Linked DNA regions of Homo sapiens: all the other regions are linked to region 2. Evidence: promoter capture Hi-C in 16 types of primary human blood cells and fetal thymus (Javierre and others, 2016). All regions are on one chromosome and are shown on one strand. The core of a region is centred on a gene start or on the middle of the fragment in contact, and the rest is flanking DNA. Distances in the headings are between cores, read along the strand shown. Region 1 has its middle 58 kb from the start of LGI2. Region 2 holds the start of DHX15 (DEAH-box helicase 15). Region 3 has its middle 13 kb from the start of CCDC149.

What was found. The method cuts DNA at HindIII sites, captures the fragments that hold promoters and counts their contacts. A CHiCAGO score of 5 or more calls a contact.
Region 1: a fragment that was not itself captured here is called in contact with the fragment with the promoter of DHX15 in region 2 in 4 of 17 cell types (monocytes, M2 macrophages, M0 macrophages and 1 more); the score reaches 10.2 in monocytes.
Region 3: a fragment that was not itself captured here is called in contact with the fragment with the promoter of DHX15 in region 2 in 3 of 17 cell types (monocytes, M1 macrophages and M2 macrophages); the score reaches 5.7 in monocytes.

What each region holds. Positions count from the first base shown.
Region 1 is chr4:24,970,755-24,975,100 of GRCh38, forward strand. It overlaps a transcript of CCDC149 not described here and a transcript of LOC102723675 not described here. Among named protein-coding and RNA genes, the nearest start is that of LGI2, 58 kb to the right of the region's middle. The HindIII fragment of the contact is 1,250 bases long and covers 2,231-3,480 here.
Region 2 is chr4:24,582,623-24,587,286 of GRCh38, forward strand. DHX15 (DEAH-box helicase 15) reads right to left here and starts at 1,932. Exons shown (of 14, transcript NM_001358.3): 1 at 1,701-1,932. The coding sequence starts at 1,771. RefSeq lists silencers at 1,191-1,240, 1,441-1,520, 1,531-1,650 and an enhancer at 1,831-2,370. The HindIII fragment of the contact is 7,218 bases long and covers 1-4,664 here.
Region 3 is chr4:24,923,585-24,927,729 of GRCh38, forward strand. It overlaps a transcript of CCDC149 not described here. Among named protein-coding and RNA genes, the nearest start is that of CCDC149, 13 kb to the left of the region's middle. The HindIII fragment of the contact is 988 bases long and covers 2,145-3,132 here.

The DNA.
Region 1 (4,346 bases), core at 1,606-4,105, 390 kb after region 2:
CTGGCACTGTTCTCCCCATGTTGCCCAGACTCCCACATACCTGGGAGGCACTACTCTCTTGGGTTTTGTGAGTGCAATGAGCCCCCTGGTGGTCCTACCCCTTGGCAATGACTATCCCTGGAGTGGGTGTCAAAACTGTAGAAGCACAAGTTACTGCTCTTGCAGAGCACACCACCAGGGCTCTGAATTACACCCGAGTGGCCCTCATCCTGTTATGGATGAGGTTGATCAGATGAGAAAGGTGGTGTTGCAAAACTGAATGGCCTTTGACATAATAACTGCTGCCCAAGGAGGCACCTGTGCCCTTTTAGGAACACAATGTTGTACCTTTATCCCTGACAATTGGCAGAATATAACAGCAGCCCTGCAAAGGGTCTCATGGGAGATTAAGGTGGTCAAGACCCTTACTGACGACCCCCTACAGAGTTGGTGGGCATCTCTAGGCTCTGGCCTATGCTGGGTCCTAATAGTCATAAGTAGCATAGCTGGGATCCTAGTAGTGAGTTGTTGCTCTCTGTGTTGTTGTTGTGGGTTATGAATTCAGGGCTCTGCCCTATGGGCTTGTGTCCTTGCCCGGGGGACGCCCTCGGCCTGGGAGGTGGAGTATGAGGGAGATGACTGCACTTTAGTCAGGAGTAAGCCAAGGCAGGCTTCCAGTGCAGCATGATTCAGCAGGTTAGGAGTGCAGGTGCACAACCCTGCACATTATGCAACCTTGCCACATGAGGCACGTTAGGTGGTCACCCACATGAGCTTGTGCTTGGCTTGGAGCCACTATTGTCTGCAAAAGGTATAATTACCCTGCTAATGCTGTACGTTCGGCTCGCTCCTGCCCAGGGAGAGAGTACAGCCATGTAGAAGCTGTCTATGATTCCTCGAATGTTTTCCCAGCTATCTGCCACTCACCCACCAACTCCCTTCCTCTTGGCAAGGACATTCTAAAGTTAACCTGAAAAACAAACTAGTTCAGCCCATGATGGGAAGAGGGGGCCAGATATGCCTCATTATACCATCCTCTCTTTTAGAACTACTGATAGAACAGACTCTTTAAGTCTGATAAGAAACATTTACAATCTATTATCTTTGAAACATACTACCTAGAGGCTTCATCTGCATAATAAAACCTTGGTCTCCACAACCCCTTATCATAATCCAGACATTTCTTTCTATTGAAAATAAGTCAACCAGTTGCTGATCAAAAAATCTTTAAATCTTCATGACTTGGAAGCTCTCACTTCCAGTTGTCCCACCTTTCCAGAACCAACCAAGGTACATCTTACACATATCAATCGGTCCCTTATGTCTCCCTAAAATATATAAAACCAAGTTGTGGCCCAACCACCTTGGGCACATTCTCAGAATCTATGGAGGACTGGTCACTCATTTTCACTCAGAATAAATCTCTTCAAACATTCCACAGAGTTTGACTATTTTCACAGACAGAGGGAAGGATGACAAAGGGACACAGGAAAACCCTGGCTATCATGAACTTGTTTGCTGTGTTGATTGTGGTTGAGGACTAAATTCTGACCTTTTTCTTTTCTTTTCTTTTCTTTTCTTTTCTTTTCTTTTTTGAGACAAGGCTCTCTGTCACCCAGGCTGGAGTGCAGTGGTGCCATCTCAGCTCACTGCAGCCTCAACCTCCCTTGCTCAAGCCATCCTCCCACCTCAGCCTCCCAAGTAGCTGGGACTACAGGCACGCACTACCACGCCCAGATAATTTTTGCATTTTTTGTAGAGATGGGGTTTTTCCGTGTTGCCCAGTCTAGTCTCAAACCCCTGAGCTAAAGCAAGCCGCTCCCCTCGGCCTCCCAAATGCTAGAATTACAGACACGAGCCACCACGCCCAGCCTTTTTTCCTCTCTTGCCCAAATTCCTAAGAGGCCTGGGGAGTCACACACTACAAACTGTAAAATCTCATCAGAGACATTTTATTTAAACCTGTCTAACTGACTGACTTTCCAATCTGACCCTGGCATAACATCACATGACAGATAAAGAAGGAAATCAAAACATTTTACCCCAAAGTATGTTTATTTGTCACACTTTGAAATAGCCTGCAACTTTGTTTTTGTGGTGGAATTGCATCTGTAACGAATCTCTGTTAACTAGATATTTCCCCTTCCAGACCCTCCCAATCCTGAAGGGACTAACTGAGGGTCTAGCACTTTTTAAGGGTTTGAGCAGGAAACATTCACCATCTTTTGCCTGTAAGGGTGGGCACCCATGAAGCTTCATCTATGTAACAAGAACCTTGGTTTCCACAACCCCTCATCTTGACCTAGACACTCTTCTATTGATTCCAGGTCTTTAGATAATAACTTAATTCTTTTAATCAATTGCCAATCAGAAGATCTTGGAATCCCCCTATGACCTGTAACCCTCCCCTTCAAGTTGTCCCACCTTTTCAGACCAAACCAATATATACCTCACATGTATTGACTGAAGTCTTATGTCTCCCTAACACATATAAAAACCAAGCTGTAACCCAACCACCTTGGGCACATATTCTCAGCACCTCTTGGGACTGTGCCTCAGGCCTTAGTCACTCATATTTGGCTCAGAATAAACCTGTTTAAAAATTTTATGGAGTCTGACTCTTTGTGTCGACATGGTGGTGGTCCCATGGGTGTACACATATGTCAAAACTTATCCAATTGTACACTTTAAGTATATGGAGTTTACTGTATATCAACTGTACCTCAATAAAGTGCATTTAAAAAAAGTCTGGAGAAAAAGAAGTCCCCTTTTGTTTGCACTTGGAGCTGTGATTAAGCATGCCTGAGGCTACTGGCAGCTATCTTGACATTGTGAGGAGAAAACATGCTTGAGAGTGAGGCCAACCCAGAGGATAAAAAGAACTGAAAAAGGCCAGAGTTAGACCAGATTCCAGCCATCCATCGGTACTGGATCCAGCTGTGCCTACAGCAGTCTCTGGAATTTTTGCTCATTGAGACAATACGTGTGTGTGAGTGTATGATTAACCCGGTCTGAACTGAGTTTTGTTGGTTACAACTGAGGAGTTCTGTGCAACGTTATCCACAGTCCACCAGGCAGGCTGAGAGCTGCTTCTTAACCAGCAAGTGCCTCATGGAGGGATTGGGTTTGGGGTTATGGAAGTGAACAGAGCTGCCTGCCTTAAGGCAAGTAGGCCTTGCTCTGTTCCCCTTGCAGTCCCCGAGCCCGGGAAGCCCGAGAGGGAGCCCTTCAGTGCTTGTGCACTCGGCTGTTTCGCAAGAGTCACGGTCAGTTGCGCCTCTGCTTCGGAAGAGTATTTTTAGTGGCAAATAAAGTGGTGCGCAAATAAACAAACGCCTGGAACAAATCCTGCAAAGGAGAGCGCCTGTGTGCGGCCCACTGTCTAACTAGGTCAGCCTCGGGCACAGCTCCTTTTGACAGTTTGCTCCCCAGGGCGGAAGGTGACCCGCAGGTGCCGGCTGCTTTCCCCACCAATCAGCCATCTGTGGTTTGAGACTCACAAGCTTAGGAGAGACTCGGGAGGCATCAGTTCCGCATCCCGCACTCCCACGTGAATTTGCCCCCGCCCTGAGTCAGAACCCTAGAGGGGTGAAATCCCTGAATTCTGCAGAGGAAACCCATACTTCTTTGCTTTTTCAGCAATTCCAGGAGATGTCGTTTTTCAAGTGGCAAATGTGTGGCTCTAGAGGACAGAGTAACCACCTTGCAGCCAAGAAGCCCTGATGTCAACTCCCAGCTCTGCTGCAGCACCCAGAAATCACCGGACCTTTCTGCATCTTTCTGGGTGACTCTGTCATGAGGATTTCATAATGTAATTCCCTAGCACATAAGAATTTCTCAACCAATATGGCTTTCTTTTTTCCTTCTCACTAGTCTTTGAGCTTCTTAAAGGGAAGACATGTCCTATTCATCTCTACACCCCCCACACCAGTCTGCATTCAGTAAGTGCTCAATCAATGTCTGCTGAATCACATCTTCCCACTCAACTGCATGGCCTCGGATGATCCAATTCTGTGGGACTCAGGGTCTCCCTGATTCTGAAGATCTCCATTTCAGCCACCCCATCCTGGTGCTTTTTCTGGAGAGACTGGGAAAAAGGTGAGCAGAAGAGAATAGAACCAGGAGAGGGAGTGAAAGAGGGGTTGAAAGGGGGTTGGGGGAAGGAAGGGGAGGGAAGGGAAATGCTATAGTTTGAATGTGTCCCCTCCAAAATTCAGATGATGCCAATGTGATAGTAGGAAGAGGTGGTGCCTGTAAGAGGTGATGAGGCTGTGAGGTTTCCTTCTTTGTTAATGGGATTAAAGGTCTTATAAAATAGGCTTTGCGCAGCATTGCACTAGCTTGCTCTCTTGCCTTATGCCATGTGA
Region 2 (4,664 bases), core at 682-3,181:
TAGGCTGTAATGACTCTTAACTACAGTACTGAACTGTGTGCTGCTGAGTGAAAATGACAAAGGCAGGGTTCCAGATCCTGCTGTAAACTTGCACAAGCCACCTTAACTCTGTTCTCCACTTCTCATTCCTTGATTGGAGCCGCGTATAGTCTTTTTTAAGTTGCTTCCAGCTCTGAGTCTGTGACATACAGCTCAGAGGTATTAACGTTTTGTGGGGCGTAATGGTGGGGGAGGGTGATAGCCTAAAGAGAGTCTGTCTTACAATGTCATTGTCTTTTTTACAATGCCTAATATCGTAAACTAAATAACTCACAAAATTAAAATGTGACATGCTTTTGCTTTCTATTGAATAATTCAACATATGGCAAAGCCTCAAAAAGTACACCCTATCCTGGCTTATACTCTACAATGACACTAAACATATCCCTGGAAATCAATTTCAATGAAGAACTTTAGCTGAAAAATTCAAAACAGCTATACAGGTGACTTGACACAGTGATTCTGTATCACAAGTACACAATAAAATGATACAATTATGCAAAGTATTTGGCTACTCGGGCTTTTGTGGGTTTTGCCTGAATTATCCAAACAGGTCTTTGTACTTCATCAATGAAAACACACAAGGGACAAGAAATGATTTTCACGAAATTGCTTAAATTAACTGCTAAATTCCTCTGTACCTTTAAGGAAAGGAATCTGGAACACCAAGAGTTTGTGTAAGTATTTCAACTCTCAACCTCCACATGGGCGGTGTTTCGCCATAAATACTAAAAACACGTTTTGAACATGATCCCTGTATTTCAAAAGCTACTTATGAAGAAAAGTGGGACATGCATAGAAAATAAATGATGAAAAAAAAAAACAATGCCTTCTAATCCCTCCCCATGGGACGATGTTCAGTAACCAGTTTTAACCAAAGCAGGAAATACAGGAGATGGCGGGAGCGTAGGCAGAGAGCGGAAGTTTGCTAGTATCTACTTTGAAGTGTTTGAATGGACCAAGGCACGCTCTCTCCCGCCAAACTATAAACTCAGTCGCCCCAAAACACCAGCCTTCCAGCCCATCAGGTATATTACTCCACGTTTTCCTTTCTCCCGGCAGGTCCTCTACTCCCACCTCCCCCGAGAACTCCCTATTTGCTGGCTTCTCTCAACTCCCGCCACCCCCATCCCAGCCTACATTATGATCCACGCGCTGCTCTCACTTTCCGCCCTCCGCCTTTCCCGTCTGGAGTGCCTGGCCGCGCCCCCACCCAGGCCCTCCCCACGGCCCCTCTGGCTGGGAAGTGCCTGCTGCCCTTGGAAGCGAATACTCCCACCGCGCCCTCCCCCACCCTCTCCTCCGGCTCCAGGCCTTCCTCGGGAACCGAGGCCACGAGGTCCGCGGTTCACTCCCGCCCGACGCCCTCGCAAATGACTCCCGCTCGGTTCGGCCTGGGGGAGGAGGCGCCCTCATGGCTACTGCAGGCCTCTCCACCCTCCGGACTGGGCTGGGCAGCGGCCCCGTCGCACGCAACCCCCCGCGCCCTTGCCGGGCCGAACGGGCGCCGCGCTTCTCCTACCCGCCGCTAGTGAACCCAGCCCAGAGAGAAACAAAGGCTCGGGCTCCAGGACCCGCTCGGCCAGGCCAGCCCCGGCCCGCTCCCTGCCAGGACCCCAACAAAGCCCGAGCTGCCGCCTCGCGCCCCCGGCCTGGCTTACCCATCGGTCCCCGCACGCTTCTTGCCAGAGGGGTAATCCTCCCCTAGGTCCAACCGGTGCCGCTTGGACATCCTCGCACTCTTCGAACGGGCAGTTATTAAGGAAGAAAGCTGGCTGCTGTATGGGCACAGTCGAGGACAGCCACTTAACTCTGGAGGACCCCCACCCCTCCCGCTACTACAGCCCACACGGTGCGGCCGGAACCAACAGCTAAAATGGCGGCGGCGACGAGGGCTGGGCCTGCGCGCGCGCGCGCTTCCGCAGCGTGCGTGCGTGCGAGTGTGCGTGTGAGCGAGGTGCGCGCGCACGACGCCCAAAGGCGGGAACTCCTGTCCCGCCCGCTGCCTCATTGGTCCGACCTTTCTTGGGTCTCCTCCCTCTTCCTGTAGCTTTCCCCTCCTCGGAGCGGCTGTTAGGAAGAACCTGAAGGCCTTCACTTTCCATTTCAGGCTATCCTTGCCCCTCTGAGTCAAGAAATTGAGAAAGTCTAGTCCTAGTTAGGAAATCCTATTCATTTCTATTACCCCGGCTTTAAGGGAATCTCAGACCCAGAGAGGTTGAGAAACGAATGAAGATCGTACAGCTAATAAGTGGCAGAGCCGGGATTGGAACCCAGCTATTTAGTAACTCCAGATCTGGAACTTGCGGCCACTGCGCTACCCTCAGTTGCAGTGAGGGGCCGCGCGATGGTTCACGCCTGTAATCCCAACGCTTTGGGAGACCGAGGCGGGTGGATCACGAGGTCAGGAGTTCGAGACCAGCCTGGCCAACACGGTGAAACCCCGTCTCTACTAAAAATACAAAAATTAGCTGGGCGTGGTGGCGTACGCCTGTAATCCCAGCTACTCGGTAGGCTGAGGCAGGAGAATCGCTTGAACCTGGGAGGCGGAGGTTGCGGTGAGACGAGATCACACCAGTGCACTCCAGCCTGGACGACAGAACAAGACTCCGACTTGAAAGAAAAAAAAAAATCAATTGCAGTGAGGAAACTGAAGTGAGAAAATGTTAAGGCTTGTCATGATCTATTTTGCCCTTTTCTTGCCCAGCACGGACACCATGCACCCAAGCTATAGATGTTTTTAACTAGAATACAGAGAATTCGCAGTGAGGGCACAATTTGCTTTTTTGTTTTTTGTTTTTCTGTGCCTATTAATGCACTTTCGCAGTGTTAAATAACACCCTGCAAGGTAGTTGTTATTTTGTAGACGTAGACGCAAAGGCTGAGGAAGGTTACATCTCCTAGCCATAAGGGCTGTACCTAAAGCCATAACAAGGAGGTGGGGCAAGATGACTCTAAGGATTTTTGTGGATCTCTCCCCCTAGAATATGTCTGCTTCCTCAGTTGCATTTGTTCCCAGAAGAAATGCACAAGAAAAGATCTGTGGACCATCTGCAGCAGGGTGATCTCTGTTGTTCATGGAATGGCTTGGTTTGGCTGCCCTGGAAGACCATACTCTGGTTCTTATCCAAATCTCAGGACTGCAATTGCTAGGATTAAATGCAACTTAAATATTGCAACTGATGAGGGGTTTGTGTGTTTGTTTTGAGACAGTCTTGCTCTGTCGCCCAGGCTGGAGGACAGTGGTGCAATCTCAGCTCACTGCAACCTCCGCCTCCCGGGTTTAAGCCATTCTCCTGCCTCAGCCTCCCTCCTAGCTGGGATTATAAGCGCCCGCCACCACGCCCGGCTACGCGCCCGGCTAATTTTGGTATTTTTAGTAGAGACGTAGAGACGAGGTGTCGCCATGCTGGCCAGGCTGGTCTTGAACTCCGGACCTCAAGTGATCTGCCCACCTCGGCCTCCCAAAGTGCTGGGATTACAGGCGTGAGCCACTGCACCCAGCCAGCAATTGGTAAGGAGGGTTTTTATTTTTTTGTACCAAATCCACATTGGAAAGTCAACACAAAGAAAAATGAGTATATTTTTCACTTGTGAAATATTCAGTACAACTTTCTATCCTAAATGTACCATAGTCCCTACTTTGTCCCTGGTTTTGCTTTCACAGTACAGTAAGATATTCTGAGAGAAAGACCACATTCACATAGCTTCTATTACAGTATAGATTCTCCTTGACTTATGATGGGGTGATGGCCATCGCAAAGCCATCGTAAACTGAAAATGTTGTAAGTTGAACATGCAGTTAATATACCGATAAACCCATCGTGAAGTCAAAAAATCTGGTCAAACAATTGTAAGTCAAGACTGTCTGTATGTTGTTATAAATGTTTTATTATTAGTTGTTAATATCTTACTGTGCCTAATTTATAAGTTACACTTTATCATAATTACATATGTATAGGAAAAAACTGAAATTAAAATGATGAGTTGGCCTTCTATTATCTGTGGGTTCCTTATCCCTGGATTCAATCAACTGCAAATCAAAAATATATTTTTCTTTAAAAATGGATGGTTGCATCTGTATTGAACATGTACAGACTTTTTCTTGCTCTTATTTCTTAAACAATACAGTATAACAGCTATTTCCATAGCAATTACATTGTATTAGGTATTATAAGTGATCTAGTGATGATTAAGTATACAGAAGAATGTGCATAGGTTATATGCAAATACTGTACTATTTTATATCAGACACTTGAACCTCCACGGACTTTAGTGTCGGCAGTTTCTCCTGGAACCAATCCCTAGTGGATACTGAGGGACAATTGTGTTGACTTTTTTCAGATCATGATGTATAATCACTGGATTCCATCTGATTTTTCTCTTTTTGCTTAATTTTACAAATGAGGGAAACTGAACCCCTAGGTCTTATTGAAGTTCACACAATCAGTTGGTATCAAAGTCAGAATAAAATACAGATTTCACTTGAAGTATTAAAATCTCAGTCTTCAGGTTTCCAGTTTGATGACTGCTATAAAGTGCTCTAAAATTTTGGAGAAATAATCAGGGAAAAAAGTTAGAATTCTACCTGCAGAAGTGCTCCACTCAGATGTCAGCCTCTCATA
Region 3 (4,145 bases), core at 1,389-3,888, 340 kb after region 2:
CTGAGAAGGAGTAGCACAGGGGCAGAGAGAACAGGTGAAAACAAAAGAACTTGAATGAAGATTAGTGTGACCAGAAAATAGAGAGGAGGGAAGAGAGTGACAAGAGATCAGACTGGAGGGAGGAGCAGAGCCTTAGTCATGTGTTAAGGAAGTTAGAATTTATCACACAAGTGCTGGGAACCTTTGAAGTGTGTATTAGGATTAAAGCTAAGCTTCAGTAACAAAGACACCCAAATATACAGTGGCTTGACTAAGAAAGAATTTGATTTCTCCTTCACAAGACAGGTTGCCAGGGCAGCCCTGCTACCCAAGGCCACTCTGAGCCCTAGATTCCTTACAAACTGTGATTCTCTCTTCACCTCGGATACTGCCCTCAGATGCAGGTTTGAAGCTGGGTTGCAGCTCAAGTGTGTTTTAGCATGTGGGAAGGGAAGAGGTCCAGGCAATATCCTTCTAAGCAAGTGACACGAAAGTAGCATATGTCACTTCCACTCATATTCCATTAGTGAGAACAGACATATGGCTACACACCACTGCAAAGGAAGCAGGGAAATGTATTCTCTAGCTGGGTAGCCATTTGCCAAGAAAGAGTAGCACCACTCTGACCCAAAAGATCTTAAGCCATAAAGTGATGAGATCAGATATTCAAGTCTTTATAGCTGAAAAAAAAAAAAAAGGATCTTGGAAGTCACTTAATCCAAACTCTTCATCTTACACATGTGAAAACCAAATGAGGTCCATGACTTTAGATACTATTGCTGCATAACAAACCATCCCAAGTTTAGTGGTGTGAAACGTCACGTTATGTTCATGGATTCCATGCTCAAGAATGCAGAAAGGCCACAGTAGGGTCAGCTGGCTCTGCTCCATGAAGCATGAGGCCTCAGCTGAGAAGATTCAGAGTGTGACTCAGTGGCTGGAGGCTGGACTTATCTGAAGGCTCATTCTTTTGCATGCCTGACACCTACTTTGGGAGGACCCAAAGACTAGGACTGTCAGCTAAAATGCCTTACATGTGGTCTCTCCATGTGGTGTTTCTTCCTCATAGCACAGCTGCTTCAGGGTAGTGGATTTTTCTCATGGCGCCATGGAGTTGCAAGAATGACTATTCTAATTAACAAAGTGGAAACTATACTGCCTTTCATCATCTATTCTTGGAAGTCATTCAACATCATTTCCACCACATTATTTTTTGGTTATGAGTGAGTCAAAAACTTGTCCAGATGCCACCTCTTGAGTATGGATGAGTATCAAGGTTTCATTTTAAAGAAGCTTGTGGGATGGAAGAAATTGTTGCAGTCACCTTTGGAAAATGCAATCTACCACAGTGGCCACATCCACTGGCTACAATACCCATCTCATATACAAAATGAATAACCTTTCTTCGAAGACACCCAAAGTTTTGTCCTGTTACTACATCAGTTATAAGTCCAGAATCTCAACTACATCTTGTCCAAGTGTAGTTGAGGCTCCTTAGGTACAGTTTTTTGGGTCAATCTTCCTCTTGTTCTGTAGATCTATGAACTAAAGAGATTAGTTCTCTGTCCCTTATGCCAGCAGCATGCCACAGTAGAACAGGCATTGGATAACTGCTGTAGACATTCCTGTTCAAAAGCAGGGAAAATGAAAGGCATTGGTGGTCACTTGTCCATAGCAATTCTGAAATGTGGGGACAGCTTAGGACTCAGTCATACTCTTTGGGAGTTTTTCTTCATGGCTCTTGGTTCAGCCCTCTGAGTTATCCTTCATTTTCCATAAGAAATACTTCAGTATGCAATTGAATAGCCTTTTTAGCCTGGTTCTTGCCTTTAAAAGACTGGGGGTGGGGTAGGGTCAAAAGAATTCTTTTCATCTCGTACTGTCTCTGTTCCTGTCCATCAAAGCTAACATGCTTCCTTTTAAAAAAACTTTGCGGTGTTTTGTTTCGTTTTATTTTGTTTTACTTTGTATCAATGCATAATCAACTTTATAGACAAAAATCACACTTACAAATCTCTTTGAGTCAGGTCCTTCTCTATCTTGGGTCTTTGTGTCACTGTTGTGGGACAGTGCCCTCAAGATTCTTTGAAGTCTTATTGTTTAACAAAGAAGGTCTACAAGACAAACACTATAGATTCTTAAAGAAGGACTTTTATGTTCCTGGAAGCTTCTCTGAAGTAGCATGTAAGATATTTCTGAGGCTTAAACAAGGGATCTTACAGTCCCATTCTGAATTCATATTTTCCCAGAGCCTATTTATTAATTTGGGACACTTTCCTGGCTAAGATGACTATTCTGAGACCTTATCTATCCTTCCAATTAGGCTTGAAGGCTTAAGAATTCATTCTTGGCCGGGCATGGTGGCTCACACCTGTAATCCCAGCACTCTGGGAGGCTGAGACGGGCAGATCACCTAAGGTCAGGAGTTCAAGACCAGCCTGGCCATGGTGAAACCCTGTCTCTACTAAAAAAAATACAAAAAATTAGCCAGGCATTATGGTGTGCGCCTGTAATCCCAGCTACTCGGGAGGCTGTGGCAGGAGAATCGCTTGAACCCGGGAGGTGGAGATTACAGTGACCCAAGATGGTGCCTTTGCACTCCAGCCTGGGCAACAGGAATGAAACTCCATCTCGAAAAAAAAGAAAAAAAGGAATTCATTCTTGAGTTTGTCTCATTCCTCCCATTTTGTTATAGGGAACAGAAAGAAGTTAGTCAGCACCCTCAATGCTTTGCCTGAAATCAAGTTTAATAAATATGCTTTCCATTTTATGCATTATCACAGGAAACAGTTTTGCTAAACTTTCTTCCACTGCATAACAAGGACCTCCCTTTCCTGGGTTTCCAGATAACATATTCCTCAGTTTCCTTTAAAGTCTCATCAACATTCCCCTTGAGGCCCTTCCAGCTTGTCCTACCTTCCCTCAGGGGCTTCCAGAACCCACTGCGGAGTGTCCCAGTGCTAATACTACATGTTTCTGTTTTCTGTTACAAATGCCTCCCACTTCCAGCTTCCAAATTTCTGTTTCAATGTTTCTGTTTCTATTGCTGCTGATTCTGTTCCTATTGCTTCCAAACTTGGTAACACAGAATAACCATTTTATTATTCTCACAGATTATGTCGGTCAGGAATTCAGAAATGGCGTAACAGGGAAAGCTTGTCTCTGCCCTGTTTAGGGTCTCAGCTGGAAACGCTTGAAGGTTGGGAGTGATTCCCTGCTTGGGACTGTGGATCGTCTGAAGGTTTCTTCAATCGCATGTCTGGCACCTGGGCTGGGAGAACTTGAAGACGAGGACTGTTAACTGGAGCACCTACACGGGGCCACTCCATGCCACTTAGCTTCCTCGCAGCATGGCAGCCTCAGGACAGTCACACTCCTTACAGGCAGCACGGCTCCTAGTGTGAATGTTGCAGTGGACTAAGCAGAAGTGGCATTGCCCTTAAGACCCCCAGCCTCCGAAGTCAGGCATGGTCACTTCTGCTACATCCCATAGGTTACAAGGAAGTCCCAAGCTTGTCTGGATTTGAGGGAAGAGAACACAGACTTCTCTTGATGAGAGAATATCAAGGTCATATTGTAAAGGAGTACATGAGATGTGAGGTTCTTGCAGCCATCTTTCGAAAATATAATTTCCCACATCCAGGAAGGTCATTACTGACGAAGCAGAACTGAAACTCAGTTGTGTTTATGGCCAGACCCCTGTTCTTTCACTATACCATGCTGATGAGTCAATAGCATCATTTGCATGAATGAAAGATCTTACGTTATTAAAAAGAAAAGTTGAAACGTAAGGCAAGATGCCAAATTCAGTCTCAATTGAACATTCTCTGTATTACAAATGCAGCATAAATATATGTTTTCCATAGCTCTTGCAGAGCAAACAGCTGCGTTTATTTGCATCCAAAAACATGGAAAAATTCCAAACTATAAGCAAAGAACTCAAGAACACGACTCAAACTTCTGTAAATGTAAATCTTCATAAAAATAGTTGTAACGTTGATTAAAGCAGGTGCTGAAACCTTCTCCTAGCCTGAAGTATTCCACTTACAAACAACCCCCTTCCCGTATAATGATGTAGTTTTCTAGGAACTACTCGTATATTTGGCTAAGCAGTCAAATGCCTATTAAACTTCCTTATATTAACTTGATCTACCACCTCCTCCTCC